Linked DNA regions of Homo sapiens: regions 2, 3, 4, 5, 6 and 7 are each linked to region 1. Evidence: promoter capture Hi-C in 16 types of primary human blood cells and fetal thymus (Javierre and others, 2016). All regions are on one chromosome and are shown on one strand. Each heading gives the region's core, a stretch centred on a gene start or on the middle of the fragment in contact. The rest is flanking DNA. Distances are from core to core; before and after follow the strand shown.

What was found. The method cuts DNA at HindIII sites, captures the fragments that hold promoters and counts their contacts. A CHiCAGO score of 5 or more calls a contact.
Region 2: a fragment that was not itself captured here is called in contact with the fragment with the promoter of ST6GALNAC3 in region 1 in 1 of 17 cell types (monocytes); the score reaches 7.6 in monocytes.
Region 3: a contact is called between the fragment with the promoter of MIGA1 here and the fragment with the promoter of ST6GALNAC3 in region 1, in 4 of 17 cell types (non-activated CD4 T cells, naive CD4 T cells, total B cells and 1 more). The highest score is 10.1, in non-activated CD4 T cells.
Region 4: a contact is called between a fragment that was not itself captured here and the fragment with the promoter of ST6GALNAC3 in region 1, in 3 of 17 cell types (monocytes, fetal thymus and total B cells). The highest score is 8.7, in monocytes.
Region 5: a fragment that was not itself captured here is called in contact with the fragment with the promoter of ST6GALNAC3 in region 1 in 1 of 17 cell types (naive CD4 T cells); the score reaches 5.5 in naive CD4 T cells.
Region 6: a contact is called between a fragment that was not itself captured here and the fragment with the promoter of ST6GALNAC3 in region 1, in 3 of 17 cell types (M0 macrophages, M1 macrophages and M2 macrophages). The highest score is 8.9, in M0 macrophages.
Region 7: the fragment with the promoter of AK5 here is called in contact with the fragment with the promoter of ST6GALNAC3 in region 1 in 2 of 17 cell types (M1 macrophages and M0 macrophages); the score reaches 5.9 in M1 macrophages.

The regions. Positions count from the first base shown.
Region 1 is chr1:76,072,815-76,076,615 of GRCh38, reverse strand. It overlaps ST6GALNAC3 (ST6 N-acetylgalactosaminide alpha-2,6-sialyltransferase 3), which reads right to left and starts at 1,870. Exons shown (of 5, transcript NM_152996.4): 1 at 1,732-1,870. The coding sequence starts at 1,749. RefSeq lists a silencer at 1,870-2,069. The HindIII fragment of the contact is 5,160 bases long and covers 1-2,496 here.
Region 2 is chr1:77,824,318-77,828,118 of GRCh38, reverse strand. The region is part of intron 7 of MIGA1 (mitoguardin 1); the gene reads right to left. Among named protein-coding and RNA genes, the nearest start is that of MIGA1, 47 kb to the right of the region's middle. The HindIII fragment of the contact is 4,876 bases long and covers 1-3,801 here.
Region 3 is chr1:77,777,664-77,781,464 of GRCh38, reverse strand. MIGA1 (mitoguardin 1) reads right to left here and starts at 1,816. Exons shown (of 16, transcript NM_001416120.1): 1 at 1,729-1,816. It also overlaps the pseudogene RNA5SP21. RefSeq lists an enhancer at 1,840-1,929. The HindIII fragment of the contact is 6,952 bases long and covers 1-3,801 here.
Region 4 is chr1:77,760,202-77,764,002 of GRCh38, reverse strand. No RefSeq gene overlaps it. Among named protein-coding and RNA genes, the nearest start is that of USP33, 2.2 kb to the right of the region's middle. The HindIII fragment of the contact is 2,006 bases long and covers 1,388-3,393 here.
Region 5 is chr1:77,537,884-77,541,684 of GRCh38, reverse strand. All of the region lies in intron 13 of AK5 (adenylate kinase 5), which reads right to left. Among named protein-coding and RNA genes, the nearest start is that of ZZZ3, 140 kb to the left of the region's middle. The HindIII fragment of the contact is 5,942 bases long and covers 1-3,801 here.
Region 6 is chr1:77,415,749-77,419,549 of GRCh38, reverse strand. It overlaps AK5 (adenylate kinase 5), which reads right to left. Exons shown (of 14, transcript NM_174858.3): 8 at 1,835-1,911. Among named protein-coding and RNA genes, the nearest start is that of AK5, 140 kb to the right of the region's middle. The HindIII fragment of the contact is 4,885 bases long and covers 1-3,801 here.
Region 7 is chr1:77,280,204-77,284,004 of GRCh38, reverse strand. AK5 (adenylate kinase 5) reads right to left here and starts at 1,986. Exons shown (of 14, transcript NM_174858.3): 1 at 1,632-1,986. The coding sequence starts at 1,691. RefSeq lists a silencer at 2,067-2,126. The HindIII fragment of the contact is 11,909 bases long and covers 1-3,801 here.

The sequences.
Region 1 (3,801 bases), core at 621-3,120:
ACAAAGTATTTTTCATACCCTATCTTATTTCATTCCCACAGCAACCTTGTGAAGCAGGTGCCACTACTTTGATCTTATATTGAAGAAACTAAGGCCCAGAGACATTTAAGTAACTTGTCCAACATCACAGAGGTAGCAGTGGGCAGAGCCAGCATCCAGACATATCTTTCTGAGTCTAAAGCCCACATTAGTTTCAGTGGAGGGAAGATAAGGTGGACAGATATGTCCCAAATGTCTGAAAGCAGTGTGAAGTGCTAGAAGAGAAAGATTGGACCAGATTCATGTGTAGTTTGGGATGTGCATTAAAGATGTTTACCACATGTATAGGACAAGGCAGGGGAGAAACCAAAACAGAAAAAGATGGCCAGCAATAAATATCATGCTCCTCAATGTCCCTTTCAGCAAATAACACAATGAATAGTAAAGATGACTCATATTCATATTTCAGTCCTTGTGCTAAGAGCCTCCCGGTCAAATACCCCATACTGTAATACTGATGTATTATTTCCTCATGTCCTGGAAAATGTTCTGAAACAAAAAGAGGAAGTTCAGAAAGCTCACAGGAAACTTCTGATCTCCTTTACGCAAAGAAGGGGAAACAACTTCTACGAGGTTAGTCTCTTATTTTCATCATTGACACCAGGCACGTTAGAAGACGATTCAGGTAACCAGAACACAGTAGATGACTTAATATCATCTTATAGAGAAATAAATGCTACTTCACAATAACACAACAACAACGAATTGTTTCCTGGTATTTTCCATCGTCACACAGTTCCCCCAGGCTTGGACAACTAGGTCTCTGCATTCTCCAGTCAAGGCCCAGGAAACTTTCATGCTGTTCATGTTTTTGATTCATGCATCCAGGTTATGTTCTTGTAGAAAGGTAGTGCAAAAAAAAAAACGAGGGCAGGGGAGGCCTCTACCAGTGGGATGGAAAGTTCTTTTTAAGTGAGGCCCTCACACCAAGTTCTCCCACCTGAGGCCACAAGTCTGTGAACCCAGAAAGATGCTCAGGTGAGGCTAAGAATCCGGTCTTGGAGAAAGAAAACTCAACAAAGAAGGGATGGCTGAGCGCACTCTGGCAGAGCATAAAATCATTTTGTCTATTCAAATTTATGAGCATAAAGAGAGTGAGAGGTTCTCTACTAACATATACATCCTCGTGTGAACTTTTCCAAAGTAGAGCTAAGGGCAAACAGAGCTAGCAGATCTCATAGAAAACTCATTCCTAAGGGACTACCTGTAAACTCAGAAGTTTCTGTCTTCACATGATCAAATGCACAGTAGAGCCCACCTCCGCTCACTCTTCCCTCCATTTAAAGCGCTATGCCCCTCACCACCAGCAACTCACGCCTAGCCACTCCACCCCTCCCCGTGGCCCCTGAAAGGCCTCAGGCTCCACAGAGCCGCGGGACCCGCGGGAACACCCCTCCTCTCCCTACCATCCCCATTATTCGGCACACAGCCCTGCTCTCCCCTGGAGCCAACAGTCTGCAGCTCCTTCAATGCAGGCGCGAGCAGGAGGCAGGAATGGTGGGAAAAGAAGCTGTGCCAGCTGCATGTTTCAGAATCTCCCTCCATATGCATTTGCCAAAGGAACAAAAAGAAAATCAATGCCAGGAAAAGACAACTGAGATGAGGATGCGGTGGGACCGCGGCTGACTCCGTGCCTCTGAGCAGCAAGGGGCTGGCCAACCACGCGTCCGAGCCACAGATCCAAGTCGTTACCTTCAGGATGCAGGCCATGGCGCTCCGCCGGCCCTCCTGCCACCGAGCAGCGGGCGCGCCTGGGTCAGGGGCAGTCCTGGGGGCAGGCTGGAGGCTGGTACCACGGCAGGACCTCTCCAGCCCACATTCCCGCAGATCCAAATAAGGGGACCGCGGTGTAAGCTGCGCCGCCACAGACCCCGCCCCCCGAGCCGCGGCCCCGCCCCCGTCCCCATCCACTGGCCCGCGGCCCGCGCGGCCCCGCCCCCGGGTCACGTGCCGTCCTGGGCGCCGGCGCCGGCGGCTCCTCAGTGCCTGCTACTTCTTTCTCTTGTTTTCTTCTGTGAACCTTTCGCGGCTCGACGTGCGCAGAGTGCGCTCTGCAGCAGGCGGGGACCTGGGTCCCGCGGGGGGCAGAGTACGGCCTTTTCTTCTCGGTTCCGTCTCCTCTCACACATCAGAGAACTCCTTTTTACAGACGTTTCACACTTTGTCAAAGTTGAGTGGGTTTGGCATCGCCCTTCTGGAGACTTTGGGCACATCAAAGGGCTTTTCAAAAGTAGCAACGAAGTTCTCCCTGGGCTGTTCAAGGATTGAGCCTTCACTCTGTGATGGGCTTATCTAAAATTAATAATTTACCGCTAATAAGTGAGCACAAATATCAACGAAAGAAAGACGTCATGAACCTTACACTCTGTATGGTATATTTTGTGTGTGTGTACATATTTTACATATACATGTATGTGTGTATAATATATAAATTATTGCCTTTTCCTGGTACAAGCTTGTTTATGAAATTGTATATGCATGATATACAGTATACAGATACAGGATGCACACATGTGTATATTGTATTATATATGTACATGTTGATTGTACAGTATATGTTTATAAACTGTGTATGTGTACATGATAGGACTTTGCTCTTCCCTGCTCCAAGCAAGAGCCGGCTAAGAGAAGCAGTTATTTCTACAAGGAGAGTAAACGCATTGCAGAAGGGAGAGAGCATTCCGTGTACACACACAGATTTTTACCACTTGGTCTGTCAGAAAAATTTTAAAAGCGGCCCCCAAATATCTACCCAAAAGAAGTTTCACTTGCTAGAAGCTCCGTCTAGTTTGCCTCCATGGAATCAGGAAAAGCACTGTGGGCTGGTGGTGTCATGAGATTGGCTCACAAACCACAAGGCAGAATCCAGGCTTTCAAGGAATTTGGTATTTTCTTGATGAGAACATGCAGAATTCTTAGAGAGCAGGAGTAACCACAGGAAGGAGGTTGCAGAAGCTGAGCCTGTGGATGAACTGCCTGTCCCATGGGAAGCTCCTGTCTTCAGTCTCCCTGGAATACCACACCCTGCTCTTCGACTTCTTCCTCCCGCCCCTCCCTCCTCTGCCTTACAGATCCGGTGTGTTTTTAGTAAGAATTCTTTGTTTGGGACTATATACTTTAAACCGCTGCTTTAGCTCATGGTCCTTCATAGGCCAGGAAAATTCAGTATTTCATTCATTTACTCATCCCTTGATTGATTCCACAAACTTTTTTATTGAGCCACTACTAAATGGAAGAATAAACTTTATTCACCTTCCACTAAGTGGAGGAAAAATCTTTATTGAAGACCTTTCAGGGATAGGAGAATGACTTTCAGAATATCTAACATCAAGGTGGGCTCACAGTTAAGTGAGAAAGACAAGAATAAGAGATACATGATACTATAACATGGAAAGGGCCTTAGCCAAATTGGAAGCAAAGATCTCAGGAAGGAGAAAGAGAAACACCTGACCGTCCCCCAGCCCGACACCCGTAAAGGGTCTGTGCTGAGGAATATTAGTAAAAAAGGAAGGCCTCTTGCGGTTAAGAGGAAGGCCTCCGTCTCCTGCATGTCCCTGGCAGAACAGCAGAGCAAAGGGGTGAGGGTGGGCAGAGCACATCGTTCTCTCTAGAAAGTCTGTACATCTGGAAAGAGAAACAGCAGGCCCTAGTGAACAGCCCTGCTAAGTACTTCCCTGCTGGGTGTCCTTGATCAAGTTTCTTAACCTCTCTTTAATCCTTACCTTATCTAATATTATCTATCCTCAAGAGAATTAAATGAGA
Region 2 (3,801 bases), core at 954-3,453, 1.8 Mb before region 1:
TGTCACAAAGGAAACCATTAAACCTCCCCACCCACCTTTATTTATTTATTTATTTATTTATAAGACAAAGTCTCACTCTGTTGCCCAGGCTGGAGTGCAGTGGCCCAATCTTGGTTCACTGCAGCCTCCTCCTCCTGGGTTCAAGCTATACTCCTACCTCAGCCTCCCAAGTAGCTGGGACCACAGATGCACACCACCACACCCAGCTAATTTTTGTATCCCACCTTCATATTTCATATAGGACTTCCACTCCAATCTCCAAGAAGCAGCTATTCTGGTTTTACATTTTAAGTTGCTCCCTTCACCTCTTCAATTGCTCCTCCCCATGGGAAGAGTAACTTGGCTAATGCTGAGAACCTGCATGCAATTAACCAGGTAGAGGAAAATAAGATAAAATTAATGTTCACTAGTTCTTGGTGTGTACTAGTTCACTCTCCTTCGCAGACTTTCTAGAGAAAGGTCAGGGTCTGCAAACCCATCCTCACTTTTGCTCTGGATCTCACTCCTTCTGAGCTGGACAAAGTGTTGGCAGAAATTGTAAGGCAGGCAGGGAATCTCTACGCAGCTGGCTGGGTAAGTATGTTGTTAATTTGCTCTGTATTCTCTTCTCCAGATAATTTTTTATTTTATTTTATTTTATTTTTTGAGACAGGGTCTCACTCTGTCACCCAAGCTGGAGTGCGGTGGTGTGATCATAGCTCACTGCGGCCTCGATTTCCAAGACTCAAGCAACCCTCCCCACTCAGCCTCCCAAGTAGCTGAGACTACAGGCGTGAGTCAACACACCCAGCTTCCAGAGAATTTTTTTGAGGGGAAAGGAAGAAGTTGTAAAAATCCTTAACACATTGTCCAATCTGGCTATTAAGAAAAAAAGTTTAGGTCAGGCGTGGTAGTCGGGAGGCTAAGACAGGAGAATCACTTGAACTCAGGAGGCAGTGAGCGGAGATCGTGCCACTGCACTCCAGCTGGGCCACAGAGCAAAACACCATCTCAAAAAAAAAAGGCTCTTTTTGGCCAGGTGCAGTGGCTCATGCCTGTAATTCCAGCACTTTGGGAGGCCCAGCTGAGTGGATCACCTGAGGTCAGGAGCTTGAGACCAGCCTGGCCAACATGGTGAAATCCCATTTCAGCTAAATATACAAAAAAATTAGCTGGGCGTGCTGGCGGGCGCTTTTAATCCCAGTTACTCGGGAGGCTGAGGCAGGAGAATCACTTGAACCCAGGAGGCAGAGGTTGCAGTGAGCCAAGAATGTGCCACTGCACTCCAGCCTGGGCAACAGAACAAGACTCCATCTCAGAAAAAAAAAAAGGCTCTTTTTGTGTTCTTAATTTATTCAGAATCCAGACCTGGCATGGTGGCTCATGTCTGTAATCCCAGCACTTTGGGATGCCAAGGAAGAAGGACTGCCTGAGCCCAGGAGCTCGAGACCAGCCTGGCAACATAGTGAGATCCTGTCTCTACAAAAAATTAAAAAATTAGCTAGTCATGGTAGTTCACGCCTGTAGTCCCAGGTACTCAGGAAGCTGAAATGGGAGAATCACTTGGACCCAGGAAGTTGAGGCTGTGGTGAGCCATGATCGCACCATTGAATTCTAGCCCAAGCAACAGAGCAAGACCCTGTCTCAAATAATAATAATAATTAATAATAATAGGATATGCCAGCAAGAGGCAGTATATCCATTATCATTTTTTATTTTCCTCCTACGCATGACAAGGTCAGAGATGAGGGAAAATCAGTAATCTTAGCTACATCTAGAATAATTATTTTTTCAAACCCTTCAGATAATTTCTAACCCGGAAAAAGGTAGATTTATAAAAAGCACCTTTTTTTACTTTACCAAAAAATAAGTTTAAACATGGCTTACCTTGTTTCATTAAATACAAATTTATATTACTATGAGAAAAATCAAATTAATTCCCAGAAAAAAAGAATGTTGTCTGCAGAATTGACTAACAATATCATTGTAAAACAACTTATGAACATGTGACATCCTCCTATCTATAACTATGAAATTTTTAAACCAGCTTAGAACAGGCCTCTTTAAACTGCTAGACTATAATTATAATAATGAATAGATAAGTGTTTACCATGTGCCTATGCTAAATATGTTATGTAATCTCACTTAATCCTCACAGTTTTATGAAGTTGATCCTAATATACTCCTACACATTACAGATGAAAAAGCTGAGTCTAAGCAAAGTCAAGGCTTGCTTAATGTCTCGGCTAGCAAGAGGGGTAGAGCCAGGATTTGAACCCATGCTTGTTTGACTCCAAAGCCCATATTCTTAATTACTAAGTTATACTATGTATAATTGAAATCATATTGGAGGTTTTCGTTAAGCCTTCAGAAGTTACAAAAAAAAAGTTTATCAATTATAATTTAACAATCTCTGAAAATAGAAGCTACAAATAAACATAAACATAACACTTCCAGATACTTTTAGCTAGAAGAACTTGCACAATAATGGAAATTTACAGTAATGTTATTTCATGTCTTCTCTGCATAACTTCCACGTTCTTTCTCATTCTGAGTTACAGTACCAGGTGCATACAAAGCCTGCCAGCAAGTGTTGACTTATATTTAACTCCCAGTGCTACAAGTAGCAACACAGAATGGCACCTGAGTCACAGGCATCCAACATGTAGATAAAACGTGCTGCCCTCTAGTGATTTCAACATCTCACATTCAGCACTAAACGGTCTTATAAGTGAATAAGGAAAACGTTTTCATTTTTAGAGAACTAACTCAAATCTTCATTTCATTTGTTTGTGATTGCACAACTCCTATATTCCTATAAGAGAAACAGAACAGGGCCAGGCATCGTGGCTCATGCTGTAATCTCAGCACTTTGGGAGGCTGAGGCGGGCAGATCACTTGAGGCCAGAAGTTCGAGACCAGCCTGCCAACATGGTGAAACTCCGCCTCAACTAAAAATACAGAAATTAGCCAGGTGTGGTGGGGCACGACTGTAGTCCCCAGCGCACCTGCAGTCTCAGCTACTTGGGAGGCTGAGGCAAGAGAATCACTTGAACCCTGGAGGCGGAGGTTGCAGTGAGCCAAGATCATGCCACTGCACTCCAGGCTGGGCATCAGAGCAAGGCCCTATCTCAAAAAAAAAAAAAAAAAAAAAAAGAGGAATAGAACAAATAACTATTGTTTAAGCCTGTATTAAACTCTTGGTGCACTAGCACTTAGAAATGCATGCAATAATGACTCATTAATTCAGGATGGTTAAGGAAATGCAGCATGGAACATGGCAAACAATAAATTATAGAATATGGAGTGGGTTATATTTTATGGGTGGAATTCATTCCTTAAAACATAATTCAAACCCTGCCTAATGCAAAGCTATTTTCTTATCATAGGAAACATTGTAAAGATGGCTTGAAATACAACTACTGTGCTATATTTCTTTTTGCAGGCATACTTTTAAACCACAATAATTATAATAAAATCTGTGTTTATGCTTTTAAAACACAAAATATTACTAGTAAACCATTTTGTATCAGTATCACCTCCTTCCAAAATATCAAAAATATTTCCTATTTTAATTATTTTTAGAGACTGAGTCTCACTGTTTCTCAGGCTGAAGTACAATGGCCCAATCGTAACTCACTGAAGCCTCGAATGCCTAGGCTCAAGGGATTCTCCTGCCTCAGCCTCCTGACTAGCTAGAACTACATGCACACACCACCATTCCTGGCTTAAATTTTTTTATAGAGACGGGGATCTCGCTATGTTGTCCAGACTGGGTCTTGAACTCCTGGTCTCAAGCAACCCTCCTGCCTCAGCCTCCCA
Region 3 (3,801 bases), core at 567-3,066, 1.7 Mb before region 1:
GAAGTGGGGGGAAGCTCATTTATTCTTCCCCCTCCCTAAATATTAACACATTTTATTTTGAGAAACATTTTTACTAATTAGATTCTGGATCATTAAGCAATCTATGCTACTGCATTTAAAAAACGTATTGAGTAATTCACCCAAAGTAATTTTCCCTATAATGGAGCATTCCAAATTTTTAAGCAGAATAGAAAGAAAATAAAGCAAACACTTTAATTGGCTGCAGAGATATTCTTAAAAGATTATGACAAACCTCGGCCAGGCGTGGTGGCTCACGCCTGTAATCCCAGCATTTTGGGAGGCCGAGGTGGGTGGATCAGTTGAGGTCAAGAGTTCAAGACCAGCCTGGCCAATATAGCGAAACCCCATCTCTACTACAAATACAAAAAAATTAGCCAGGAGTGATGTCGGGCGCCTGTAATCCCAGCTACTCGGAAGGCTGAGGTAGGAGAACTTCTAGAACCCTAGGGGCGGAGGTTGCAGTGAGCAGAGATCACGCCATTGCACTCCAGCCTGGGCGACAGAGCCAGACTCCGCCTCAAAAAAAAAAAAAAAAGAAAAAAGAAAAAATATTATGACAAACCTCTATTTTTGCATTCTAACTACCTCATTCTTTTTCATTTAATATTACTGAGGAAGTTGATTCCAAACCTAATCATTATTCATTGAAAAACTAAAGAAAAAAAAACAAAAAACTAGTCATTTCATTTGCTTTCAGAAGCATAATAAAAATAAACATGAAGGGGGTTTCATGATTATTCAAATTTATAGACGGAATCTATAAAACATAACCAAAAATATTGTCCTGTGTGATATTACTTGCTCCTCTACATTCCAACTACTGGGGAATTAAAAATAAGTGTCATAAACAGTTTCTTAGACATCTTAAAATTCTATCCTGCAACTTTGACTTTATAATCCAACAGGAAGGAAAGTCTGAAGTATCAAAAAGAAAATTGACGTGAAGCACAAATCTATATAACCTAACTCTGACACTTTGAACAGAGCAAACATGTTTAGCTGCAATAACAACAACAATAAAACAACAATAATAAAGGTTTCAAAGTCCTGTGCAAAAACAAGCTGAGTCTTCCCTCTGGAAAATAGATAATTTAACAACTTTACAGAAGGACCTGACACCACAATACTCCCGTGCTAAATTATTCTCTTAAAGCACCTGCAAAGCAGAGTAATCTTTCACATCCAAAAGCCACTCCCTGCTCAAAACCACCCGCATCCAAGCCGAACCTGAGACCTCACCAGCTGCCCTACCTCCAGCGCGCTCTCCCCCGACCCCACAGCAGCCCCTCGCGGAGCTCTCCTCTGCTGTCTTCCTTTTTCTTTGCCAAGAACACCAGAAAAGGGGGTCCCTCCAGCTCGGCCGTCCAGACCCTTCCTCTGGCTCAGAGCAGTGGCGAGCCCATCCCAATTCCGCGCTTCCTTTGCAGGCCTCCCTCTGGCGTGGGGACCCTCCTGCTTTCCTATGCAAGTACTAACCAGGCCCGACCCTGCTTAGCTTCTGAGATGAGACGAGGTCGGGGGTGTTCAGGGTGGCACGGCCGTAGACCCTCTGGCTTTCCGCCGCTCCACCTGGCACTCCGAGAGCTAACGCCAGCGATGGAGTCCGCGCCACCCCTGCCCCGAGGCCTCTGCCCCAACTGCGTGGCCGCTCAACTCTCCGCTTCCTCCCGCCCGCCTCTCCACCCCACCCCGCCCCTGGCCCTGTACCTGGAGCTCCAGGCCAGGTACAGCTGGCCTGCCCACGCCAGCTTCCCAGCTGATGCCTGGCGCTGAGCAGCAGTCTGACATGGAGAAGGCGGAGTCCTTCCGGGGTCAGGAGTGCGAAGGTGGAGAGAAAGTGGAGGGGGCCTTCCAGGCTTTCTGCGTGAGGGACTACGTGTGAAGCAGCTCCCGCCATTTTTGTTTAGGGTAGAGGCTCCTTCCTCGTCAAGTGGATGCAAAAACTATATTCGAAGAATTGCATCCTTTTACAAACCGGTAAAAAAAAAAAAAAAAAACTAGTATTGTAGTTCGTAACCTGTCGGGGGATCTAGAACGGTTGTCAATCTGGTAAAAATTATGGAGGGTTTCCCCTGGAAAAAAAAAAATGTGTATACACATGCTCATTACATTAAAGAAAAAAAAGTTACACAATTTCAAAACCCTGAAAACAAGATTAAGAACTTCTACCACAGGCCCTCAGCCCTCAGATGAATGAGTGTTAAGAGGCATTCCAATCCGGTATAGATGATGCATTTATTATTGATTTCATGTCCTCTTTACCTTTTTTTCTGTGTTTCCCACTGAATTAGGCAACCGAAGAATATTGAATGTGGCAATTTATTGGCAGAGTAGTCACCTCTCTCAGGTTCTAATACATAGTAAACTAATAGGGGGCCGGGTTAGGAAAAAATAACAACAACAAAACCCAAGGTACTGTTTCTACGTTCAGTCTTCAGTCAAAACATTCCATCAGAACTGCAGATTTAGGCGGGGCACGGTGGCTGAAGCCTGTAATCCCAGCACTTTGGCGGGCCAAGGCGGGCAGATCACTTGAGGTCAGGAGTTCAAGACCAGCCTGGCCAACATGGCGAAACCCCATCTCTACTAAAAGTACAAAAATTAGCCAGGCACCTGCCTGTAATCCCAGCTACTCGGGAGGCTGAGGCAGGAAAATCGCTTGAACCCGGGAGGCGGAGGTTGTGTGAGCCCAGATAGTGCTACTGCACCCCAACCTGGGTGACTAGAGTGAGACTCTGTCTCAAAACAAAAAACAAAACAAAACAAAACAAAACAAAAAAACTGCAGATTTAAGAATTCCAGTTGCTGAGCATATTTGTGGTGAAAAGCCAAAATAATTCTGTTTTCAAAATTCCCATTTAACCAAATGGAAAATAGAATAGTAGTACCAATTTATGATATTATTAGATTAATAATAACTAACGATCCACAGACTGGGTTTTATGTGAAAATATTTTGCACTTATAGGGTAAATGGAGCTCTTGAGACTTGAAGAACCTGAAATTTGTAAGGCTATTTTCATTTATTTTCCCAATTTCCTCCTCTTTCCCATTTCCCACAGCTTCCAAACATTCAACGTAATGAGAATAGCAGTAATGATGATGACTACCACTCAACACAACTTTCCTGAGACCATATTATCTCCTTAATTCCACAATAAACATTATGAGAAAAATAGTATTACACGGTGGGTACAGAGTTTATTCTTTAGCATGAGAATAAGATATGTCACATTTAGGCCAAGTGAGGTGGCTCACATCTGTAATCCCAACACTTTGTGGGGCCGATGAGGGAGGATCCCTTGAGGTAAGAAGTTCGAGATTAGCCTGGGCAATAGCAAGACCCTCATTTCTACAAAATAATAATAAAATATATAAAATAGAAATATCACATTTAATTTATGTTTATAAACCAAATGTAATTTGCTGTAAGCCTCCCTTCTTCTGGTTTGGCAGAGTACTGCACTCAATCTTAGCCATTATTGGATATATTAGTTAACATATTCGCTACAAGTAAAAGAAAACCAAACAAGTAGTGGTTTAAACCAGAAGGACAGGGGACTCAATGTCTTCTGATATTGGAGACAAGGAAAAAAAAATTGGAGCCTGGATTAATTCTGAAGGCCAGTACCTCCCCCAGATAACCAAGCCATCGTGTAATGCTCACTAAACCAGAGAATGGAGTTCATGGAGTACTACCAGTTGTTTCTTCTGTACAAGTACTGCAATACATGCTACAGCAACCATTAATGAATTTAGGGGATCCTATCTGCATAATATC
Region 4 (3,801 bases), core at 1,141-3,640, 1.7 Mb before region 1:
TCCTGCCTCAGCCTCTGGAGTAGCTGTACTACAGGCATGTGCCATCGTATCCTGGTATTATTTTTTAAAATTTTTTGTAGAGGCAGAATTTCACTTTGTTAACCAGGCTGGTCTCGAACTCCTGGGCTCAACTGATCCTCCCACCTTGGCTTTGAAAAGTGTTGAATTATAGGCATGAGCCAACACACCTGGCCTGGTGGACTTTTTAATTATGTGACAGTGAGCGGAAAAGCAAAAATGCTTTGCCTAAGATTTGTTTTAAAATATATTTTTCTTTTCTTTCTTTCTTTTTTTTTTGTTCTTGTTTTTGTTTTTTGAGAGACAGGGTCTCACTCCTATTGCCCAGGCTGGAGAGGGGTGGCACAGTCATGGCTCATGACAGTCTTAATTTCCTGGGCTCAAGTGATTCTCTCACCTCACCCTCCATAGTAGCTGGGACTACAGGCATGATCCACCATGCCCGGCTAATTGTTGCAATTTTTTGTAGAGACAGGGTTTCGCCATGTTGCCCAGGCTGGTCTTGAACTCTGGTCTCAAGCAGCCGCAGCTTTCCAAAGTGTTGGGATTACAGGCATGAGCTACTGCGCCCTGCCCAGAAACATATTTTATTTTACTTTGAGACAGAGTTTTGCTCTTGTTGCCCAGGCTGGAATGCAGTGGTGCCATCTCAGCTCACTGCAACCTCCGCCGCCCGGGTTCAAGCGATTCTCCTGCCTCAGCCTCCCGAGTAGCTGGGATTATAGGTACCTGCACCACACCCAGCTAATTTTTGTATTTTTGATAGAGATGGAGTTTCATCATGTTGGCCAGGCTGGTCTCGAACTCCTGATCTCAGGTGATCCGCCCAACTCGGCCTTCCAAAGTGCTGGGATTACAGACGTGAGCCACTGGGCCCGGCCCAAAGACATATTTTAAAGCCCCAGCTTAAATCAGAGTTTCTCAATAGTGGCATTAATGATGTCTGGGACTCTCTTGTAATATCAATGCAAAGGAATGTTACTAATTCTTTCTCCCACCAATCCTCTTCAGAAATATTGCCAACTATCCACTCAGGGGACAAAACCACCCCCAGTTGAGTGCCAACAAGTTTTTGAGTCCTTCAATGCTAGGCTCTGGGAATATTGTGAATAAGATAAATACTCACTGCTCCCATTGAGGAGTTCAGGAGAGACAGGCAAAAAATTAAGTATACCAAAAAATTTAAGATAATTACAAATTATAATACATTCTCTAAAGGAAGCAAGCAGGATGCTGAAACCGGAAATAATGGGGTAAAGAGTTCTGTATTAAACAGAGAATATCTAGGTAGGAGTTAGCCAGGTGAAGGAAGGATAGAGGTTGGGAGTATCTGTAAAATTGTCTCTAAGGAAACAGCATTTACAAAGCTTTATTTAGTCTCAGGTACATAAGCACCAAAATGTATATTTTCTACGTTGCTATTTTTTACTTGCCATTACTCAGTTACAAAAATGAGAAGGTATTTGTTTTTGATAGGACCATTCAATTGTCTTCCTCCCTCCCTGTTTGTATCTCTCCTTCTTTTCTTCTTTTTCTTCCTACTCTTCATTTCTTCTTTTTTCTCCCTTTCATTAGAAGAGACTTCTTTTCTTCTTTTTCTTCCTACTCTTCATTTCTTCTTTTTTCTCCCTTTCATTAGAAGAGACTTCAGTACCTGGCCTGATGCACAACTCTAAGTCATACTATTTACATTATATTCTCCATGAACGGCACCTCTAGAATTCTGTTCCAGAATCAGTATGACTCAGCTGGGTGTCCACACACCCTCTAGAATTCTACTCCAGAATCAGTGACTCAGCTGGGTGTCCACACTTTGGAATGTATAATCTATTCTCTCAAGGGGAAGTTGATTGATTTATTTCCTAATGATAGTGTTCTTCCTTATAAGCCATTATAAGCCATCAGGAGATATTGTTTGAAGAAAAGTAAAAGATAAGCAATCTGGACTGTGGGATGAAAGGATAAACACCCAAGGGTGGGAGGCAGGAATTCACGGAAGTTAAAAGTGGGAGAGGTATTACATTATATTCTATCAGAGTGAGTTTGTTTTGTGAGAACTTGTCCACTGCAAGGACTTCACTTGGTGTCCACCTGAGAAGTACTTGCCTACTATTATCTACGCACTAGTCTCAAACTCCCGATCTCAGGTGATCTGCCCTGCTGGGCCTCCCAAAGTGCTGGGATTACAGGCATGAGCCACCGCACCTGGTGATCTTGAACAGCCTTGTCAGTTGTCTTCCTTGCATTGACACTGCCCTAGAACTCCTCCAGGACAGGTAAGCCCAGAGAGAACCTTGGTTACTAAGCAGGATGGTGGTGGGACTTGGAGGCTGAATTGAATTTGCTAGGACACTGTAAGAACAGAATACCCCTGATACATTTTCAATAGAAGAATTTCTGGGGAAGTGACTTTTGTCTATTTTTCTATTTGGTCGCCTGTTTTTTTAAAAATTGATTTCTGGAAATACATATGGAGTTGAGCCCCTTTTCAATTATATGTATTTCAAATAAATTCTATTTGCTGGCCTAACTTTTCTTCTCTCTCTGTCTCTCTTCTTTTTTTTTCTTCTGTAGATCTCCTCTGTGGACAGCTTTTTTTTTTTTTTTTTTTTTTTTTGAGACAGGGTCCTCCTCTGTTGCCCAGGCTGGAGTTCAGTGGCTCTATCTTGGCTCACTGCAACCTCTGCCTCCTGGGTTCAAGTAATTCTCCTGCCTCAGCCTCCTGAGTGGCTGGGATTACAGGCACGCGCCACCACACCTGGCTAATTTTTGTATTTTTCGTAGAGATGGGGGTTTCACCATGTTGGTCAGGCTGGTCTTGAACTCCTGACCTCAGGTAATCCACCCGCCTTGGCCTCCCAAAATGCTGGGATTACAGGTGTGAGGCTCTGTGCCCGGCTGGAGACAACTTTTCATCTCCTAACGGCATCTTTTTTTTTTTTTCCCAGAGAATATCTCACTTTGTCACCCAGGCTGAAGTGCAGTGGCACAATCATGGCTCACTGCAACCTCAAACTCCTGGTCTCAAGTGATCCTCCACTCTTAGCCTCTTGAGTAGCTGGGACTACAGGTGCCTGTCACCATGCCTGGCGAATTTTTGTATTTTTAGTAGAAATGGGGTTTCGCCATGTTGCCCAGGCTAGTCTCGAACTCAAGTGATTCACCCGCCTCGGCCTCCCAAAGTGCTGGGATTACAGGCATGAACCATGGCGCCTGCCTGTGAAACTTCTATTCTGTGAAATTTCTATTCTCCTCAGTGAACCGAGGATAGGCAATCATTTGTGGTGCAAATTGAGGCCTGAGTGTCAATCCCTACCTAGAATTTTGTATCATGGTTAATTTATTTCATTTTTACCATAAAAATAAGTAGAAGCTTTTATATTTTCTACCTATTCCAATGGAGACTGAGCATCTTGCATGATACTTTGGTACATGCTCCCATTTTGGAGACCAAAAAGTCAGATGTCATGAGACAGATTGAAACTGGCAATTTTAACAATTTTTTATTAATATAACCTTTTTTATTCATAGATTTGAACCTCAATCGAGTGCATTTTAACAGTTACATAATTAGAAGGCAGGACTCCTTCCATGCTCCAGGCATTAAGCAGATACTAAGGTTTCAATAAATATTTGATTTGATCCTCTTGATTTTAGCCTAAGGAGAAAATGGTGAGATAAATTTCTTCTTTGCATAGGTGGAAAAGGGAAACATAATTGCTTTCAGAGAATCTAGGTCCTAAGAAGTTGGGGGAAGAAAGATGAAAGGAGGAAATACAATGT
Region 5 (3,801 bases), core at 396-2,895, 1.5 Mb before region 1:
AGGCCTGATCCCACACGCCTTCTAGGGCCTGCTGTGCCTCAGCCTTGAGTCTTCTAACCTTATAATGAAGTTCTGTGTTTCAGGTTAGGCCAGCGGGAGTTGGCACCTGCTACCTACAACCACAGAGTCTGGCTCAGTATTACCTACAATCACAATCATGTTTTTAAAATTCACAGCAAAAAGATGTGGTGAAAACGCCCCACAATGTTTGCCTCTGAGTGGTGGGACTACCTAGTTTTCTACATTTTCTTTGTTTCTTTTTTCTTTTTTTGGAAACAGGATCTCGCCAGTTGAGTGCAGTGGCACTATCTTGGTTCACTGCAGCCTCAACCTCCTGGGCTCAAATAATCCTCCCACCTTAGTCCCCTGAGTGGCTGTGACCACAGATGTGTTCCACCACGCCTGGCTAACTTTTGTATTTTTTGTAGAGATGGGTTTTGCCATGTTGCCCAAGATAGTCAAGAACTCCTAGGCTCCTGGCTGGGCGTGGTAGCTCACGCCTGTAATCCCAGCACCTTGGGAGGCCAAGGCAGGCAGATCACAAGGTCAGGAGTTCGAGACCAGCCTGGCCAACATAAGAGAAACCCCATCTCTAATAAAAATACAAAACATTAGCTGGGTGTGGTGGTGGGTGCCTGTAATCCCAGCTACTCATGAGGCTGAGGCAGAAGAATGGCTTGAACCCAGGAGGTGGAGGTTGCAGTGAGCCAAGATTGCGCCATTGCATTCCAGCCTGGGTGACAGAGCGAGACTCCATCTCTAAAAAAAAAAGAAACAAACAAAAAAAAACTCCTAAGCTCCAGTGACCCACACTCTCCTTGGCTTCCCAAACTGCTGTGATTATAGACATGTGCCACCACACCTGACCAGTTTTCTATATTTTATAAAGCAAGTATGTGTTACTTTTATAATAATAGACTTGGTCAATTCTAGTAGATCGTGTTCTATCCACTTTAGGAAGAAGAACTGAGAGGTGAAGCAGTAAAATGACTCACCGAAGTTGATGAAAGTGTGCCTGGGGCTTTCTGATGCACAGGCCCATATTCCCCCCGCCATCCCCCAGGGAGTCTTTGGCTGGTAACTGTGCTTTTCATCCCCAAATGCTACATTTCAGTTACTTATGGCCATAATAAATTATCTCACTAAGGTGAAAGAAAACTTCTTCTTGTAGGCTAATTCTAGTCAGTTGGGGGTGATGGTCCATACGGCTGTGTTGAGCAAGTTTCTGAGACAGCATTCAGACTTGGTAGGAAGTGCCATGACTGGCGAACGCTGCCTGGCCCAAGTGTAGTGAGGTGGGGAATGAAATGGAGGAAAGTTCTGTTCTAATTCTTTCTCAGATGCAGGGCAAACCTCTGCTTTATGAGAGGGAGAAAAACAGGCAGAAAGGGATACACCTGTATCACATGTACTTCCATCTCTGGTGTGCACGTTACAAGAAGTTCTAACTTTATTGTACAAGGATGGCATTATGATGACATAAAGAATAAGGGAGTGGCTGTATAAATTCTGCTTTGCTTTAAAAATTATCTTTGTTTGAAATTTTGCTGCACTTTCCTTAGCTAGCTGGTGGCCAAAGGGCTGACTTGTCATGGAGTGGGGGATGGAGGGTGTCAGATGATGGGTTCAATGTCAGCATTGCTGGGTAGAGGCCTGAGGGCGGTGCTTGTGGCCTATTTGTGGGCTGCATGGGTTGGCCCCCCCTGTGGCTTTAATTCCTAAATAAATCTCACAGAACTGCTGATTCATCTCACTTGCTTTCTTGAAGTGCATTCACCAGCCCCACCTAGTTTTAAGAAAGCTCCTTAAGTGACCCAGAGGTCCTCTTGGGTGAGCAGCCCTGTCTTGGGTCCAGTAAAACAACAGGGAGGAGGGGCAAACAATCCAAACAGCATCACAGGAGCAGGCCACAAGCTGTTACTTAGGAACCAAGGGAGATTAAGCTGATGCAGGAGGACTGGGCAAAAACCCAGAGGCCAGACAACAGAGTGGGCCAGTGGCTTTCTCCCTCTCCAGCGGCAAACAATCCTGTCCCCTCCCCTGCTTCTCCTGCAGTCCCCGCTCTTGTCACCCTAGCTACTGGCAAACCCCACGGGTACCTGCAGACAAATCTCAGCTTCCTGGGCCCAGCACACACTGTTTCTATGCTAGGTGTGTAGGGAGGACTGTTCATCTTTGCAGCTGTGTGGGTAGGGGATGGCCCTGGGCAGGGGCAGTGGGATGAAGCAGCCTCCCTGAGACTCTCTGGGAGTCCTGAAGGCTGAAGCTCACGCTGCTCTGCAGTCCGGGCTGGAGAGGTTTTACATATTTGTGCAGTGGATCATAATGTTACCTCACCACGCACCCAGCAGCCAGCATCTCCAAAATGCAGGGGAAGTTGAAGAGATGAGCCAGGGGACTGCAAACCTCTTTTCCACCATTAAATAAAATTTGTAGGAGGCCATTGGTTTGGACTAGGCTCCCGTTCTGGGCCCAACAGGCCGAACCAACGTGGAGTCATCCGTGCTAAATGAAACAAACAACTTGGATGTACACACTGTAACAGATGGCTGAGTTTTGGTAGTTCCAGCAGCTGAGCTTAAGTCAATAGTAGGTAGCCAGCTGATTCACATAAGGCTGTAACTAATTAACCTCAGTTCCTCACTTCTGTTTTCTAAACATAAATATTGCTTGACCATGTGGCTTATTCTTCAAACATTTTTCTGGTCCTGAGGTCTGCCCAATTCTAGAATCATGAATAAAAGCCAATGAAGATCTTTAAATGTGTTGTAATCTGGTCTTTTGGACACCACTAACTTAGAAAGCTCTAAGGAAGATTCCAGAAATCAGATTTGTCTGAGAACTCAACCCTGTACTCACGAGCAGTCATTTGTGAGTTTGTAGAATTCAGGTTGGAATAATACAACAGAGAGCTAAGAGGGATTTTCCAACTCTAAAAGTGGTTAAATCCTGAATTACTTAGGAATTTTCCCACCTTTACAAATCTTAAAAGTGGAAGAAATACCTTTCTTTTTTTTAATTTTTTTTTTTATTTTTTGAGACAGGGACTCTCTGTCACCCAGGCTGGAGTGCAGTGGTGTGATTTCAGCTCACTGCAACCTCTGTCTCCTGGGTTCAAGCAATTCTTCTGCCTTAGCATCCTGAGTAGCTGGGATTACAGGCACGCGCCACCACACCAGGATTTTTTTTTTTTTTAATGTTCCAGGCTGCTCAAAAGGTGGAAATCACTAGACAATCTAATTTTGGAAAGGCCTTTGCAGCCCTGAATTCTTAAGACATTGCTCTTATATAACAAAAACACTTTTGTTTATGTTTTTTTTTTTTGTTGTTGTTGTTGTTTTTTTTTGAGAGACAGTCTTGCTCTGTTGCCCAGGCTGGAGTGCAGTGGTGCGATCATGGCAAACTGCAGCCTTGACCTCCCAGGCTCAAGTGATCCTCCCATTTCAGTCTCCCAAGTAGCTGGGACTGCAGGCATATACCACCAAGTCCAGTTAATTTTTGCATTTTTTGGAGAGACAGGGTCTCGAAATGTTGCCTAGGCTGGTCTTCAAACTCCTGGACTCAAGTAATCCTCCTGTCTTGGCCTCCCAAAGAACTGGGATAACGGGTGTGAGCCATTGCACTTGGCCCTGTTATTAAAGATCGAAGTCTTTATTTTTAAAATGTGGCAGCCAGAGGTTATATAAAGCACAACAAATAAGTCTCAGGTTGCACATCAAGTCCTATTAATTGGCAGTAGCTGCCTGGAGTGCTGTGTTGACAAACATTCTCAGGCCACACCTGCTGACTGAGAAACAGTGC
Region 6 (3,801 bases), core at 698-3,197, 1.3 Mb before region 1:
TGTGTGTGCCTACAATGCCTGTTTCTTCCCTTTTTCTTTCTTCTTTTCCATTTGTTCATGTATTTGTTTCATGGCTTCTAATCTTCCCTTTCAATATTTTGAATATCCTTATATTATGATTTCTTTCAGATTTTTCTGTTCTTTCTAGTTCTTGGGGGGTGTGGAGTCTTCCATTTCTTTAACTAGCTGGCTTCCTTGTTGTGAATCATTTCTTTGTGCAGTCTGTAATTTTAGATTGTAAGTGGTTGTTTTGCATTAGCCTCTGCTGGAGTCTTATGGGTCAGCAACTGAAAAGGCTCCCAATACATATCATTGAATGACCTGTCTTTGGAGGTTAGGATGGGAGGCAGTACATTGTGGCAGAGGCAGCACAACCTCTTTCTTTTGTAAATTGCCCAGTCTTGGGTATGCTAGAGAATGTGCCCTAAGTTCACATCCTTATTGTGAAACTATTTATGTAACCTTGGGTAAATTACTCTTCTAGTCCTTTTTTTTTTTGTCTGTGATATAGAGATAATAATTCTTACTTCCTAGAGATGTTGTGAAGAATTGCTGAGTTAATATAAGAAACTCGGCACAACGTTTTGCATGTAATAAGTGCTTAATAGATGTTAAAAATTACTATAAACATGTGTAGCTATTATAGCACTTGCCAACATCATCTCCTTGCTTTGTGCTATAAGGAAAGAACTTTATACTCAAGAAAATAGCTCCTGAATACGTATATGAAATATACAGCCAGCCATTACACATGGACACTGGTCTGATCTGTTTGCTTTATTTGTGATGAATATTAGTTAAAGATGGGAACAAAGCCTCCCCCAAGAACATGTTCACTTGGCTTTTAGCCATTGCTGAGGAGCACTGATGAGAGGCGGAAGAAAGTTTTGGACATTTTTCTTTTTTAAAAATAAAGCCTAATTAGGGGGTTGGCTCATTTGCCAACTATTTTGGTTCATTAAAATATAGCAGCAGAGAGAGTTCTTCTGCTGAGAGGAAAATGACCCAGATAAATGTCTTCAGTTTTATTCAAAGAGAAAATGTATTTAACTTCTTGGCTATGCTTTCCTCGTTCATCATTCCCTTCCACAGACTAGTGATATGGTTTGGCTCTGTGTCCCCACCCAAATCTCATCTTGTAGCTCCCATAATTCCCACATGTTGTGAGAGGGAGCCAGTGGGAGATGACTGAATCACAGGGGCGGGTCTTTTCTGTGCTGTTGTGATAGTGAATGGGTCTCACAAGATCCGATGGTTTTAAAATCAGGAGTTTCCCTGGACAAGTTCTCCCTTTGCCTGCTGCCATCCATGTAAGATGTGACTTGCTCCTCCTTGTCTTCTGCCATGATTGTGAGGTCTCCCCAGTCATGTGAAACTGTGAGTTCTCCATTAAACCTCTTTCTTTTATAAATTGCCCAGTCTTGGGTATGTCTTTATCAGCAGCTTGAAAATGGACTAATACAGTTAGCGATAAAATAGCAGAGCCCTGAACCTGTAGCTGATGCTCAGTAAATATTATTAGTTTATTAGTGGGAAGGGATAGAGACACAGGCAAATTCTTGGGCAAGAGAACCTCATTTCTATCCCATGTTAACGTTTGATGATAAACCTTTCTTTAATTCACTGTGTTTTGAATCTTAGGACAAGGGAGTGCCAAAAAGCCAAACTTAGTGAATGAAAACTGTAGACTACTGTAATTTATCATGTAATATGTTATTAGTTATCTGTATATATTTCACAAAATGAGTTTTTATAATTCAAATTTTCATAAAACATTTACAAAGGTTCAACTTAAAAACATTTAAATAGAGAACTATTTTCAGATTTTAATTACCTGATCTTCATAATCAGATCCTGTATCAATGATCTCTCCAGTGTCCAATATCATCGAAGGATCAAGGTCACTTGAACCTAAGATTAGGAAAGAAAAGATAAGTGGATGGAGGTTGTCTATGTATGTTTCTAAAGCAAACAGTCTCTCACTAGGTTTCCATATTTTCCTATATCACATTAAATTCACAAACATTTCTAGACTGTTCTCATCTGCCAGGTACAATGTTTTGCTGGAGATTCAAAATGCAGAGACTCTGGACACTGTCTGCATCCTTAAGAAGAAGAAAATACTGTGAGGAAGAATAATTTGTCAACAAGAGTTATTATTAAAGGTTCAGCAACCCAAGAGAGTGAGCTACTAATTCTGATTAGTAGTAGAGGTGATGGTGGAGTTAAGATTCTTCATGAGGTACTAATCTATGATCCTGAATTTTGAGGGTGAATACAGGTTGTCCAGGAGGGGGAGCAGTTTCAGGATTTGCAACAATAATGGAAGTAGAAGGAACACCATGAGCAAAGTACAGAGTGGGAGGAGAGTAAGGGGTTTCCAGAAACAGGAAGGGCTAAGTTTGCGTACTCCCTGAAAACTCGAGTTTTTCCTCAAGCCTTCGGGTCACCTTAGTTGCTGAAGGTAAGAAAAATCGGGTTAACTTAATGTATGAATAGAGAGATTATTTCCCTTAGGTACTACAGGTTTCATTAAATCAGTTACCCATTAATCCCCAAGGCTCAGACTTAAACTGGTAATTTTTACAATGGGACTTCTGAAGCACAACTGATTCATCATTCTCATTTAATAACTCTTTCCTGCTAGGAAATATATATCATCTAACTACCCAGAAAGACTGAATTCAGTGCTGCCCATAAAATATTATATATCCTGTGAAAAAACATTGTTTCACTGTAAACTTGGCCTTGGCAAATCATTCTTAGTCAGAATATCCAATGAGTAATGCATAATGAATATAAATTTGTAAAAAATGTTAAGCATCTCATACACTTCTCAGATATAGACCTGTCCCCGATGTTGCTTTCATATTTTCTTTCCAAATGAGTCGGGGTATGTCCTTACACAGTCTTCTCTCATCTCTTCTCTTTTTTCCCCCTTCTCTTCTCTTATCATTGTCCCTGCTGTCTACCAACTTGACAAAGTAATAGCCATTACCAAATTGATTAAGTTCTAAGCAGTAATGCCAGTGTTTACTGTGTTTATATCTTTACATTTTTTACAGGATGATAAAGTTTTTCAAAATGGACATACTAAACCATCAAACCATTTTGGAAAAGTAATCATAGCGTTGCCATGAAGAGTTGCAGTTGCATAAGTGTGTTCAGAACAACCCTGGGTGATGCTAGTCATGCTGTCAGCACAGCCCTTGCCAGACCACTGTTCATAAGATGGCTGCTAGAATGGAGTTGGCAAGACTACCCACCATACTATTAACAGAGATTAGAAGGTAGAGGTGGGAAACTTTAATTTACATATGTATTTTAACATTAGTGGGATTATACATAATTTTTCTACCTTTGTACTTTTGGTATTTTTTTCAAATAAATAATTTTGTAAGGTGTATTTTGGGGCCAAAATACTCAGCCGTCGTAAAGCCCAGTTTGAAGGTCAGTTTGCACTTATGTTGTGAGGCAGTAAGTATCAGAAATAAAAAAAAAATCTATATATGTATTTTTCCCATTATAAGATAATAGACATTTTAGAACTATCAGGTTGGTGCAAAAGAAATTGTGGTTTTTGCCACTACTTTCAACGTCTGTTTCACAGAATCCCACTTCTCATTTTAGAAAAGAGGAAAATGAGATGCAGAGAAGTTAAAAAACTTGGCCTAGGTCATGTAGAAAGTGCCTGAGACCAAAGGCAGAGCCAGTAGCTCCTACTTCTCTTTATAACACACCATGCTGACTCCAAATTCTAAGCAAGGGCAATCGAAATGGGTTTATACAGACCCTCTTTCG
Region 7 (3,801 bases), core at 737-3,236, 1.2 Mb before region 1:
CACAGTGTAGATTTTAATAAACTATCAAACTTCTCTGTGGTTACCTTCCACCAAGGAGGAAAAACAGTACCCACATTTACAAAGAAAAAAAGATGTACTATGTAGGAATTTTTGCAATCACGTGGTCCTCCTACAGATGTTTTTAATGATTCTTTTAGAAGCGTAGAAATGAAATATATCTCAGTAGTAATCTTTGTGAGAAAAACCTTCGCCTCTTAATTTCCATATTTACTTTTTGAAAATAAAAACAAACAAAAAAAACAACTCTTAAGATTCCCACATATTCTCAAGACCTGTCCTTATGCAACACCACCTAATTATTTTCACGCAGGAGTAACACATTTGCTAGATTTGGGCTTCACATACCACGCTTGAGTTCAGTGAGTGGTTTACCTGGAAATCTTGACTTCAGATGACCTGAAAACGGTGGCTTATAGAGGTGAGAGAAAAGAAGACCTGTAATTATGGCAACCCATTTTAAAGATAGTTTAGGGAAACTGAGGCAAAATTATTTTCTCAAGTGGTGCTTTAAAATTCCTTTTAACAGAACAAATCCCCCAAACCGGGGGGAAAAACCCTCATGACCTTTAGTTTACGATATCAGTCTATCCGTTTTCAGAAATGGGGAACGAGGTTTGCAGTGAATGGATTTCTCCTTTCAGAGCTCGCTTAGGAAGCCTGGCTTGCTTCTATTCTTTTCTCCTCCTCCCCCCTACTTCAAGCAAAAGCACTTGAGATTCAGGAATGTTTTTAAATTCAAATACAAAGAGAAGGAAAGGAAGCCAAACGACCTGAGACAGGGGTTGTGGCTTAGAACAGACCAAGGTTCATTCCTCGAGCCTCCTCTCTCTCAGTCTCCAAGTGTCCCCCCATTCCCGGGTCCCGGTGCAGATGATGCTGTGCTGCGGTCTGAAGACTGAGCAACAGGAGTCCGCCCCCCTCGCAGCTCCCTCCCCGACCCGCTATCTCCAGGTGGGTTGTCGAGCACTGGCGAAACCTGCGGCCCAACCCTTCCTAGGCAACGGGAAAAACGTGCTCAGGAGTTCATTCAGCGAAAGCGCAGAGCAAGGCTGGGGGCCTGTCACCGGGGAGGTGGCACTTGATAGGTTGGGTTTTGCTTTTTGCATCTTCATCCCTCTCTTCCAAGCTGTCTCCAGGAAGGGCTGCCTTCGTCCACATTTCCTCTTTCCCCCAGGGGTTCCGACCCTCGACCAGCAGAGTGACTAGGGCTCTGGCTCCCTCAGTTTCGAGTCTTTACTCGCTGCTGGGCGACAGTGCAGCCACCTGACCTGGCCCTCGCCCCCAGAGAGTGCGGCCCGGCCGCGGTCTGCAGCCCACCCTGGGTGTCCACATCCGAGGGGCGCGATGGGAGCAGGCTGCTTTCAGAACCCTGCTGGAAGACTGAAACTTGATCTGTGAGATGCAGGCTTCTAAGCCCAGCCTTCTGACAAGGACCCTGGCAACCCGCGGGAAAGGCGACTACCCTCGGGGGAGCGGGCGAGTGCGCTTCTACAAGCCCCTTCATTACATGCCCCGTGTGGGGAAGGTGGGACGGGGCGCGGCTGCCTCAACCCGAACCCCTGAGATGCAGTCCCCGGATGCTACCGCCCGTCGGCCAGCTCTAGCCCTACCTCAAAAAGCTGAGGGATTTCCCTCCGGGCCAGATACTCCTTGGCATCGTTGGTGTTCATGGCTGTGCCGCGCGTGCCTTGGGGCGCAAGCGGGGAGGCTCCCGGGCTGCGGCGACCTGAGCCGGGGCTGAAGCTGGGGCTGGCAGAGTCCGCGCCGAGCAGCGGTGCAGCCCTCTTTCTCACGCGCACTCAGCTCAGCCTCTCCGCCCAGGCCAGGGACCCCCTCCGCCTCTCCCCGGGGGCTGTGGTCTCCGCGCTCCCGCCGCCCCCGCTTCGGTTCCAGCCCCCGAGCCGGAGCTGCAGGCGCCGAGCAGCTGTGCCGCGGCTTCCCGGGCTGCCAGGCAGCGCGGCCGCCAGGGGTGGGGCGCAGGGAGCGGAGGAGGGAGGACAGCGTGGCGAACGCAAGGCAGCAGCCGGCCCGCCTCTCCGGTTCAGCGCGCCGCGCTCCGCGCCTCCCCGAGCCGGGTCTGCGGCGGCTGCCGGTCACGCTGCGCGGGCTGGCGCGAGGTGCGGAGGTGGGGGCGGGCACGCGCAAGGGGTCGTAGTCATACCCCTCGGTGCGGCACCGGCGCCAGAGCGCGACGCTTCACTGCGTGCGCCGCCCAGGGATGCAGCTACCGGGGACCAGGTGGCCAAGGGAACAGGGTCGGGGTCTGTAGGAACCTGCGACCGTTTCGCTTCTCCGGACCTTGTACGCACACAGACACACTCGCACGCACATACACGGTTACCTCCGGGTCTCCGAGGAACTCCCAGGAAAAACCTAATAGTCACAGGATTTATCATTTATTCCTAAGGTTACGGATCTTTCACTATAGGGAGCTGTGGGGAAGGGGGAAAAGGGGATTCATGGTGTGGAATCCAACCCTTCAGATAATTTTTAGATCTTGAGTATCTCTATCCTTCAGGAAAGTTTTGCTAGCTGGTTTCGAATTTTTACCCTGTCGGTGTCACAAATCTTTATAGACTTTAGGATAAGGCCTTAGTGTGAGCCTGAAATCCTAATCAACTGAAGGACTAATAAGTAGTCAACTAGTTAATTATCTCCATGGAGAAGAAGGGACAGTGGAGGAGAAAGGTGGGTGGTAGTGGAGAGCTAGAGATGCTTAAATTGCAAATGTGTTTAGTAGGTGGGGAGGGTGGGCATCATTAATTAGACCTGAAGAGTGTGCAGTCCGTGGACAGTGTCGTATCAGAGCACCCCTGGGGGAATATGAGTGAGTATGAGTGGGTGCGCTAAGGCATAATGGTTAATGGATCTTCCTGCTGCAGACCATTGTTAAGGTGTAACCCATCTTCCTCCTAGCTCCCAAGATGACTCAATTCCCTGCTAAGATGTCTTCACATTGCCTATTTGGGAGATAGTCCTTGCCCCCGGAGAATATGATCTCTAACTTCCCACAAAGCCTAACACTGTAGGAGGGTGTGTGAGAGAGGACACTTTGGTAGGCACTGGTATCTGGGGTCTGGCTGGAGAAAGAAGCAACGCTGCCACTGCTTTAAAAAACTATAGAGTCTGAATGTCCATTTCAAGTGCTTCTTTGCAGATCTTTTCTTGGTTCTATTTCTTGTTCCGGAAACAACTGCAGCTCAAGCCTTAACTACAGCTGCAGCTTTGTTTTACCTGAGGGAGTAAATGAACTTTTAGCACTTGTGAACCCGTGTGTCATATGGTTGCCTTAAACGAGGCAGGTATTTCAGTTCCATGGAAATTGGTTTTTGCCCTTAGAATATGCCATTTCACTTACAGTCCCAACTTCTAGTATTTCTTTAGCTTATTTAAGATTGGCTATGGCAGTAGTGAAGGCAGTGTCTCTTCCCTATGCAATGATGCTTGAAAAGTACAATGGTCCGTGGCATTAAGGCTTCCTTTGTGAGCAGGCACAGTGGAGGTGAACACGCAGGAATGAAAAGGCCAGTTTCTCCAGGACTTTTCAAGGTCATCCTTTGCAGACAAGAATCTGGCAGAGCATGGCTCACCTGTCTTCCCTTGAAGAAATGCATAATTCTAAGTGTACTTTAGTGTTACCGGACAAGTGTTGGCAACTTGCTTGTAAAAAGAGAATGGATAAGAAAGACTGCACTGCACTAAAAATTGTAGATAGCCTGAAAAATGTAGTAAATGGTGATACGGCAAGTTTTCAAGTAGCCTTATGCAGAGACAATTAGT